2 separate regions of the Homo sapiens genome follow, and region 2 is linked to region 1. Evidence: promoter capture Hi-C in 16 types of primary human blood cells and fetal thymus (Javierre and others, 2016). All regions are on one chromosome and are shown on one strand. Each heading gives the region's core, a stretch centred on a gene start or on the middle of the fragment in contact. The rest is flanking DNA. Distances are from core to core; before and after follow the strand shown.

Region 1 (5,462 bases), core at 1,256-3,755:
TGATACCCTATAATTATTATAGTATATACAGTATGCTATTTATGTATCAAGTTGTATTACATGTGTGAATAATACTATGTTATATGTAATGTAATCTCTTCATTAGAGAAAGAAGAGTTGAGGAAAGCACTGTGGTGTGGTGGTTAAGAGCACAATTTGAAATTCCCACTCTGTTACCTACTTAGTTATCTGAAAGTGGGCAAGTATTTTAAACTCTATAAACTTGATTTTTCTCTTCTGTAACACTGGGGAGGATAATAATAATCATAAGAAATAATTACTAACATTTATGTGTGGCTTATTTATGACACACATTATTTTAAATACCTTAAATTTATTAACTTTTTTAATCCTTCCATAAACTCTATGAGGGAGGCAATATTATCCCCATTTTAGGGATGAAGAACCTAAGGTACAGAGAAATTAAGCAACATGACCTGATATACACAGCTAACAAGTGGCAGAGCCAGGTTACCTCATTATTCAAACTCCAGAGGATGTTCTTTTAACCAGATCATATCTATCTTTTAAAAAATTGTTTAGTTCATGCATGGAAAACACTTAGTATTCCTGGCATATTAAAATGATTAATAAATTGGAACTGTTATCATACTACATTAAGAATGACACCGATCATCAATTTAGTAACTTTTGTTGTTCAAACTGTGAAATACCAAGTATACAAAAAAGAGAGGAAAATTAAAGCTTTTTTTCCCCAACAATCCTGTTAAAATTAATAATAGATGACAACAAGTCAATAGCAAATTTTTATTTCATGTGAATATTTTTGTAAGAATAGTGTGGGTATAAGTTTTAGGGTTTAAAAAATGAATGAAAGTTCTGTTGATGAAAAAAGTAGAATTTAGAATTAGGAGTCTAGTAAGGTTGAAGTCCTATATTGTACTTATTTATAAGGCTCATTCTAATGATAGAATTATAACTATGTAGATATGTTAATTCATTTTCATCATCTATTTTTGTTCTACTAGTGGCAAATATATTCACTTTAAACCAGCTAACCACAGTTTATAAGATTCATATTCACCAATTTATTATTTTAGTGTTTGATGGCTAAAATAAACATCAGAATAAACTTTCAGGGAGTATTTTAAATAAGACATCCTAGGACTAAGACACTGAGAGACTCCATTAAGTTCCTAAATATATTAACAAAAATGTATTGAGCAAATATTCTCTGTTGGGCTCCATGTAATTCCTATTATCATTGACCATTATGAAATCTAATAATACCCATGAGTATGTCTAATAACCATAAAGTAGACCAGGAAAAATCAACCAAGTTGTGTTAGAATAGAAATTTTTAAAGAAAAAAATGCAAAGTACAGTCCAATGTTTAGGCAAGAATTAGAGGGTTGAAACCAGGCTTATTTATTTTCATCTTCTTTCTGCCATCTTTTAACCAACCTTCTCAGAATAAAATGTGATTTTTGAGACAGAATGAAACACATATCCAAATTTTAATACAGTAAGAATAGGTATCCTGAATAAATGAGAACTCTAGAAAATCAAGGTTTCAAAATTCTACCCTTCCTGGGAGTTAAAGAAGTTTGGCAGAAACAGAACAAATTAATCAGCAGATTCATCACCTGCCAATTTTTTCTGTACAATTTTCTTGATTCTGGGAGCATCTGGGTCCAGGCAGATTTTCCTCCCATCCTTCAGTGTGGCTCTGCAAAAGAGAACAGGGTTATCTGTGGGTGTCCTGATCTGAATATCAGAACTAATCCATGAGACTGGAGGAAACGAGTGCATATGTGGATGGAGGTAGAGGGTTTCTCTGATAAGGCAATAGCACAGAAACAGCAACTTACATCACTTCGACTTGGTTGCAATGGGTTCCTTTCCCGATCACTTCCAAACTTTGGATGTTTTTGGGATGAATTCCAGAGGTTGTCTTTATACACATGCAGCGGAGTTCAGCATACAAGTCACTGTCTAGACTTTCCTCTAGGGTAGAAAATGTGACCTATTGGTGGTCATGAATATTTTCCTCAGGTCTCTTATTTGCAGATTGAGGGCAATTGTACCTCTCTCATAAAGCCATTGTGAATATGATCTGTAACGCTTTAGTAAAGTGCCCAGAAGATTGCCCAGCACACAAGAAGTGAGAAGTGACCCCCCTGTGTGTCTCCTCCAATTGGAGTTATTGGTATAATGGCCCTCTCCAGCCCCAAAGGCACCAAGCTAGTCTTTACCCCAGAGACAGGTGTAGCAGAAGCAGCAACAAGTGCAGAGAAGCAGGGCCTCTACCTTTGCCTTTCGCCAAGTTTCTCTTAGTTTGTCCTTTGGTGGAGGAAGCCAGAGCAGTCAGCAGCAATGACAGAAGCAGCAGCACCTGCAAGGCATGAAGTGGTCTCGCACTGTTACAGGAAGGGGTGGTATCAAGTCTGAGGCTCATGGTGGAGAAGGCTGAGCTAGAGTTGTTTCCAGAACCAGAAGACCTCTGAGTGAGGGTGAGTTGCTGCCTACAAGTCTGCAGATAAGTGGCTTCTCATGCCCTGAAGATGTCATTTATATGCTCTTTCTCAAAGCCAGTAAGAAGGAAGAGGTAGGAAAGGAGGAAGTGAGGGTATGTGGTGATACACACATAAGCATTTGAAGCTGTGCCCAACCCAGAGAAAGACCAGACAGGTCAAATTCCTACTAACTTGCTTAATGTGCATCACTTCACATTCCCACTCTCCCTTTCTCAATACTTATCTTCCTTACACCTGTGTAAGAACTCCGTTCAGGAAGGTAAGAACTAGACTGAAATACTACATGCATTTTCTTTGTATGATTTATAACAATACGCCCTGCCTTTTCTATACTGCAGTTTTTAGGCTTAATAGAAACTTTAGGAGCACCTGAAGGCACAAACATGTGGCCCTTGAAAGAGAAAGTTATCTTTGCTTGCCAAAGAAAGCAAATGTTCTTTTCATGAATGTTGATAAATATTGGGATTGGTTTGGAGCATGTAAGTAAAATAAGAGCCAATTACCGTCAAAGGTTGTCTTTGGATTTTAGCTTATTGGATTCTTTCTGCCTTCAATCTATATTATCTTTTGTAATTTCATCTAGAAACTACAAATGAAACTCATCCTCCTTTATATTACAAAAGAAGCTACTTGTTTCTACCACCTAAGAATACCTAAAAAGTAGGACCCAGCATATTTATTTTTCTTTTTATTTTTAATTTAACAGAAAAATTATATAATTTATTGCAAAAGATTCGTATGCTGCAGATGTCTTTGAAATAAAACACAAATTTCTCTTCATCATTTCTCCACATTCCTACTATTCAGTGGTAAACACTGGTAACAATTTTGCATTAGTTTTCAATTCTGTCTGCACTTATATGCACACATGTATATGTATACAATGAGACACGTTTAAGACATAGAGGTACACATATACATAGAAGTATTGTATATGGATCACTATACAGCTGACTTTTATCCTTCAAAAAATATGTGTTCCTTATCTTTTCAGGTCATCTTAATGTAGTTTTCCCCCATTCTTCTTAATGACCATGTGACGTCCTGTGATAAGAACAATAGTTACTCAACCTTGCCTTGTTGGTGCCCTTCACGGTGTTTCCAATTTTGCACTATTAGAAATTGTGCAAGAAATGTCCTTACCAAGGAAAATATTTGTTCCTGAATTCTCAGACCCAAATTAAAGGTTTTGGTCTGAAATGCTATATCCCTACAAAGATAGAGAGGTGGACCTACACATTACATGTTGGCTTTATGTTATTTTCTGGTTCTCTGTCCCATCTGTAAGACTTCCTTCCTCAATTGAACCATGCACTTTTGTAGGGAGTGGCATGTCCTGTGTTTGTTTGAATGTCTCATGTATCCTATAACATGTAGGATACTTCAATATAAAGTAGGTCTTAAATAATTAATAAATCAATGAATACGTATCACATGAAAGCTTCCCTATCCTTTCTAATCACCTACAATTCCAGGCCAAACTCGACAGGACCCAAAGCAACTATGCTATTTAAATTTATTTGGAAGATTGTCAATAAAGAAGAGGCAGATGTAAGTGGCACTGGCAACAAGTTTTCTTCCTTTTACAACTATGTATAAGTCTCACAGAATATTATTTAAATTTTCCATATTCTTTTCTTACTTTTCATATCCTTAAATTTTAGAAGAAATGCTTAAAATACTAAATGTTCAAAATTACTCTCTATCAAAAAGATGAATATAGTAATTTTTTAAATCATGTTTTTGTTTTCAAGCCAATTTTCCCTATTGTTTAATAGTTATCTACTATGTCTACTCAAGTTCTCAGGTCCTGTTTTTAAATGCGATAACCTACAGACCACATTTGACAGTTTACTTTAGAAGTAAGCAGACTTCCAAATTAACTCGCCCTGGAAAGGTTTCGTGACTTGATGGTGACATTCTATCTCTGAGTAAAGTATTTTATTACGAGTTCCTCAAATGATTGATGTACTAATTACTGTAGAACCTACTGACACTAAATAGGACAATGATTTATTTCTAAGTTTAGCTGAAACAAAAAGTTTTATTGATTGTTTTGTATGTAGACATTTAGCCTGTATGCTGTAATCTGTAGCTAATGATTTTAACTTCGGTATTGTACCCTCCAATGAAAAAGAAGACAACTCTGGTATGAGGAGTTTTTCTGCCTTATTTTAAGCTTTTCTATTATATAAAGCCCTTGTAACTTGTGAAAGACTCTAGAACACCCCCAACTTTGTGGATGTGTCTTCCCAGGTCTGTCTTCCCAGTTGGCTTTCAATAAACATGTATAAAATTATTTCTGCCTCACTAGCCTTAGTTTCAGTTGATGAATGTATTTCTTATTTTTCTCCACCTCATTTATTGTTTTCTTTAAATTAGAGTTTAGCAGTAGAGCATATTTAATTGGAATGATTTTTCTCCCTGTCACAACATAGAAATTTCTAGTCTTAAGCAAGCTTAAAGGAAGGGTGTAAGCTGAGAGTTCGGAGTCTTCTGAGAGTTGAGATGTGGAGTTAATTGCAGAGATAAGCTCAGCAGGACACAAAATGAGGGGAGCAGACTTCTTTCTCTTTCCTCCTGTGGGGTGACTTTATAGCTTTTCTTCATTATTGAGATTGAGATATTGTGAATTCGCAAGTCATATACATTTTCAAACATAAGATCAAAGCCATTTCCAGAACAAGATATAAAGGTTTTTTTTTTAACACTATTCATAGTATATTTCATTTTCTGTTCAACACCAAAATACATTGCTGAAAATGTTTATTGGCTTCACTGGACACCTTTTTTCCCCCTACTTAACGTTATCCAGATTTCTTTCCTCGTTCATTAGTAAGATTTCCTAAAAGTTCCTAATCGTTTTAAGAAAACTGTATGAAAAGTTTTCTGAAGTAATGATGCTTTTGAGTGAGTTGATACCAGGAAAAAGGTAGGCTCTTTCCTACCAGGAAACCAACTGGT
Region 2 (5,462 bases), core at 901-3,400, 280 kb before region 1:
TTAATTTATAATAAAAAATGGATGTGTACTGTCCCATATGTCTTCTTTATTTATTTATTTATTTATTTATTTGAGATGGATTCTCCCTCTGTTGCCCTGGCTGGAGTGCAGTGGTGCCATCTTGGCTCACTACAACCTCTGCCTCCTGGGTTCAATCGATTCTCCCACCTCAGCCTCCCAAGTAGCTAGGATTACAGGCTCCCACCACCAGGCCCAGCTAATTTTTTTGTATTTTTGGTAGAGACAGGCTTTCACCATATTGGCCAGGTTGGTCTTGAACTCCTGACCTCATGTGATCCGCCTGCCTTGGCCTCCCAAAGTCCTGGGATTACAGGTGTGAGCCACTGCACTGGCCCCGTATAAAGAGGAAGATTTTCCAAACACTGATGAAACCTCTAACAACATACTCTGCAGTTCATAGATCGTTCCTACCTAGAATTTAATTCGTATATGCATACTGTTTCTTCAAAGCATTAAGAATGTGCAAACAAGACTTCTTGGAAAAATGAGGCATATGGCATGCACAGTCATGAGCTTCATGGCAGGAGGGCAAGGGGAACACTAAGTCACTTGGGGCCATGAGAAAGGAACTCTGGTCCTGTCCTGTCCTTTCCCAGAGCAGGGATCCTAACACTTCTAAGAGAAGGGCCATTGGTAGCCTCTAGTTCTCAGAACTGTTTGTCCGCTAATGAAAATTAACACACTTGATTTTGGACAGGTTAATGTGAGATATCTATTATTTCCCCAGTGAGATATCATGTTGGCAGTTGGATATATTCAAGTCTTGAGTCAGTTGATACCGACTAGATAGATAGATACATAAATACATACATACATAGAAAATATTAACAGCAAAATGATGCTGATGGCTCAGGATGTGTGTTGAGACAGACAGAACTGGGTTTTGTCATTCAAGCCGTTATTCACACCCAGTGTCACCTAGGCCAAGGTTTGAGCTGCAATTACTTCAACTGTGAAATGAGGTTTCCTTCAACAGATATATATTGAATGCCTAGAATGTTCCAAGCACTGTTCTAGGTACTGCATAGAGCAGTGAAAAAAAAAAAAAACCTGACAAAATCTTCGCCCTTCTTAAGTTTATATTCTAGTGTGTGTGTAGGAAGGAGGGGAACATGGAAAGTCAGGTACTAAATTGGTGAAAAGGGAAAATATATAGTATGTCAGATGCTTACAAGTATTAAAGAATAAAATAATGCAGAGAAGGTGAAAGGAAGTATTTGCTGCAGGAAGAGATGAGGAGCTGAAGATGGTGAGAGTTAGAATTGTAAATAGGACAGTCAAAAAAACCTTCACAGAGAAGCAAAAATTCTAAGGCAGGAGAGGGAGGGAGTCAGGTAGCTATCTGAGAGAAGACTGTTTCAGCAGATGGAAACAGTCTTCAACAGAGGAAAGAGCTATTGCAAAGACTCAACGCCTTGTGAGATAAAGGGAAAAAAATCAATGTAGCTGAAACAGACTGAATGGAAATCAAGAGGCCATAGAAACCACAGAGGGGTTGAAGATGTCACTGCAGTTTTAGGCTGAGAGACTGGAAAGATGGAGCTACTGATTACTGAAATGGAAAACTCTTTGGGAGGAGTATATAATTTTGGACAAGTTAAGTTTGAGATTTCTATTGCTGCCCAAGCGAGTTGTCAAGGAGCCATTTGGATAGTCATATCTGGAGTCAGCAAAGGAGACCAGGCTGTACATACACATGTGCAAATTGTCAGCTTTTGAGGATATTTATAGCCACAAAAAGTGGGGATAGGTAGAGAAGGAAAGAGGTCTCAGTTCCAAGGGATTGGAGTTGGCTACTGTTTAGAAATCTAGGAGGAACCAGCAACAGAATGACAGAGAAACCAGCAACAGGGTGGTAGAGAAAATTCAGGAATGTGTAGTATCCTGGAAGCCAAAGGAAGAGGAAGAGAAAGTAAGCTTCTACGTGAAATGTTGCAGATAAGCTACTTTCTTCACAGCATTACTGCATGAGTTAAATAAAATGCTATTTGTACAAAACAGCATAATATCTGGCACAGCACTGCAGGTAAAGCTTGTTTTCATTTTCTACAATGAAGTTTTAAATGAATATTTAAAAATATATTTTGGACTTCTCAAAGCAAAATGTAATCCCATTTATAATTTCATAAAGACATTTTATCTGCTAATATCAGGACATCATTTTCTCAAACACAATGAAACTTTTTAAATGTGAGAAAATAAAATACTTCTCAGAGGTATTTCATAAAAGCTTAAGATAGACTCTTTTTGCCTCATAACTTTTATGTATAATTTAATAAAAGGTAGTAATGAGAAAATCAGATCTAATATATAGAATTTTGTTTCATAACCAAATTTTTAGAAATAAGTCATCTTATATATTAAAGAATAGCTAGAAGGAGAGAGGGATGAATTTTATGTATAAAATTTATGTATAATAATTTTTCCTTATAAAATTTATGTATAATTTTATAAAAGGTAATAATGAGAAAATCAGATCTAATACATAGAATTTTGTTGCATAATCAAATTTTTAGAAATAAATTATCTTATATATTAAAGGATAGCTAGAAGGAGAGAGGGATGATGAAAGGAAAAGAACAAGACATTTTTCATGCTTACTCTGTGTGACACGCTCTGCAGGGCGCTTTATGTGTGGATCTTTTTTAGTCTGCATATTAACCCTACAAGTTGGAAATGGCTCCTCTCAAACACTGGAGATAGAGCAGCCCAAATGTATCTGCTACTGTGGTGCCTTCCATGTGAGTATTTTCTCCAAATGCTAATTTGGAGAAAACAATTTATATGAACGGAGACACTATTACTTATTTGCCCTCAAAAATGAAAGTGACCCAAGGCTGGAGATAGGAATTTGTCCCAAACAATGTCTTCAGCCACCCCTCCAAACAAAGTTTGAAAGGGATGTGAATAAGTAAATGCAGAATCAGAATTTTCTATCTCTTCTGGCCTAAGTTCTTCATTTCTTAGTTGAAGATAACCAAGGCCAAATCACGTAATCAAATGACAGAAAATTATTCTGGAGACACAACCAGGCATATCAGATCTGTCTGTTTTTGGCTTGTGATGTCCACACACAACACCTGTGAACAGGTGCACTCAGCCTACCAGGAAATGCACTCATCATGTGTCATCTACAGATTTTCTCAAGACTAGAGCATTTGTGAGAAATGACCGTAAGGCTTTCCCTGTGGAGTTGAATACAAAGATTGAACATAGACATTTTGAATAATCCTAGTGACTTGCGGATCCAGTTTCCATAGAGCACTAGTTTCTCTAAGGCCACAGTCACTAAATGAGGTTCCATGGCAGGTGTAAAATCTCACTGGGTGATTGTGTCATGCTGTGCTTACAGCACTATGTTGGGGGAGAAGAGAGGAAAACCTATTATTGAAATCTGTGCTATTTTACATGACCTTTTAATTACTTATTTTTAAAACATCTCTCCTTCTAGAATGCAAAACTCTCTGAGGAGCTGAGAATATGTCTACTGCTACCAAAATTGTAACCCCCATCATCTAGTAAAGAGTTGGTACACGGTGAACATTTGCTGTGGGAATGTATTCTGCTTCATTCCAGAGGCCTGCCAATTCTTAATCTCACTATAGGCTGAAGAGCTGCTCACATAGAATACTTGTAGTGACTTCCATTTTCACCAGTTTAGATCAGTGGACAGAGAGATGCTGAATTACTGCTCAAGAAGTATAGATCCACATGCCTTCAACTTCAGAATCTTAAATTAGAGGCGAATGTTGAGTCTACTAAACTGTATAGTCTGTAAAGGCAGGAACTGTATTTATCTCAGTCATATTTAATCCCAAGAGTCTTCATAGTACCTGGCCCATATCCGTTGTTCAATAATTGGTTTTTTAAATACCTAACTTATTAAACAATGTGTTTGATTAAACAGCAGTGACAAAAAAGGGCTTACTCAGTCTTAAGTGCTAGAAGTAAAGACAGTCATGAGGGGCTTGCAATGAGCTCCACTGGGGGGAATTTTTCTTCTTCACATTTTTGTACAATGAATGTCATCACAGGACACAGCAGATACCCAAGAAATATTATTTTAAGGTATACTATACTCAAAGAAAACCAGGAAAGCCAAAAGACTCTTAATTAATAGAAAACTGCTGAGTCAATAGGATAGCTCATATAAATAAATTGTGTTCAGAATTTGATTTTCTAAATTAAAAAAAATTATGTAGTAATATCTCGAGTATAACAAATGTTTTAAGAATGGATTTGTGAAACTACGGCCATTTAAATAATATCTTGAAATGTTCAAATATCAAATCTTTATTGAATTATATTCTACATAGTGATTAATCAAAAACTAAACTAGATCTTAATTCTCACTGTAGAAAGTAAGTAGTCTTATAATATATTTGTAAAATTAACATTTTAATGTTTAATTATGTCCGTTTGGATAGAAACAAACTTAGAGCTGATAGTGACCCCATTGAGGTCTGATAGGGTCTCTTAACGTTGAAGAAGCAGTAAAATCAGTAACAGCTTTCATTCATCTTCAGGAACTGTATATGGTTATACTTTGTTATACCAATGGTTTCTTAGACTTGTGAACCAGTTATGGATAATAGCCCAATAAGAACAGAATAGTAGCCCATAAATCAAGCTGTGTCTCCTATTCAACTACATAAAGATACAACTATATATATATATATATTTTTTTTTCCAAACAGGTCTCACTCCATTGCTCAGGCTGGAACTTTTATGATTTTTTTAAGCTCATAAGGGAGTAATTCTTAATTGTTAGGTGGAGCTCAAGAAGGGTCAGTGAAGACCCGCAAAGTGGTCAAAATGCCAGGCTGAGCTGCTCTTCAGTTTGGATGCCTGCAACAAAAATGAAACAAAACAAGAAAACAAGCAAAAAAAAATCACTTTTTGTTCTGTAAAACTTTACATTTGGAAACTTACCAACTGGTAACATGAGAGGATTAAATGAAGATAACGATCAAGTAAAATAACTGGCATAGCACCTGGTTCTAATAGGCTTCTATAAATGCTGCTTCCCACCACTCCTCTCTCTTCCACCTGTTTCACCTTTTGAGAACCCTGAATCATGACTTCCAGCTACATTATGCCTGGGCATCATGACTATTCAGCTCCCTGAAGGGAATGCCTTCTGATGATTGACACTTAGTATCTCTTTCTTACTCCTCTGCCTATCCCCTTGTCTTATTCCCTTACTACTCTCAACCAGGAAGCTGGAGTAGCTGAAAGTAGATTTCTTCCAACACGAAAATGCCTAGGTCATTAGGTACATAAGAGGTGCTAACTAACTGATAAATAAATAAGGAGAGAGACAGAGAGAGAAAGGAAGGAAGGAAGGACAAAACCTAAGATAGTATAAGCCACTGCTAACCTGTGATGTTAGATCTAAGACGTCAAAGAGGAACTGGAGTGCTGGTGATTCCACCACTGTG

Evidence for each region. The method cuts DNA at HindIII sites, captures the fragments that hold promoters and counts their contacts. A CHiCAGO score of 5 or more calls a contact.
Region 2: a fragment that was not itself captured here is called in contact with the fragment with the promoter of PPBP in region 1 in 2 of 17 cell types (megakaryocytes and M1 macrophages); the score reaches 8.3 in megakaryocytes.

What each region holds. Positions count from the first base shown.
Region 1 is chr4:73,985,685-73,991,146 of GRCh38, forward strand. It overlaps PPBP (pro-platelet basic protein), which reads right to left and starts at 2,506. Exons shown (of 3, transcript NM_002704.3): 1 at 2,272-2,506; 2 at 1,833-1,968; 3 at 755-1,690. The coding sequence starts at 2,419. The coding sequence ends at 1,588. RefSeq lists an enhancer at 1-185. The HindIII fragment of the contact is 3,234 bases long and covers 704-3,937 here.
Region 2 is chr4:73,710,694-73,716,155 of GRCh38, forward strand. All of the region lies in intron 1 of INKILN (inflammatory MKL1 (MRTFA) interacting lncRNA), which reads right to left. It overlaps UMLILO (upstream master lncRNA of the inflammatory chemokine locus), which reads left to right. Exons shown (of 3, transcript NR_186371.1): 2 at 2,644-2,762; 3 at 3,473-3,834. Among named protein-coding and RNA genes, the nearest start is that of UMLILO, 3.1 kb to the left of the region's middle. The HindIII fragment of the contact is 198 bases long and covers 2,052-2,249 here.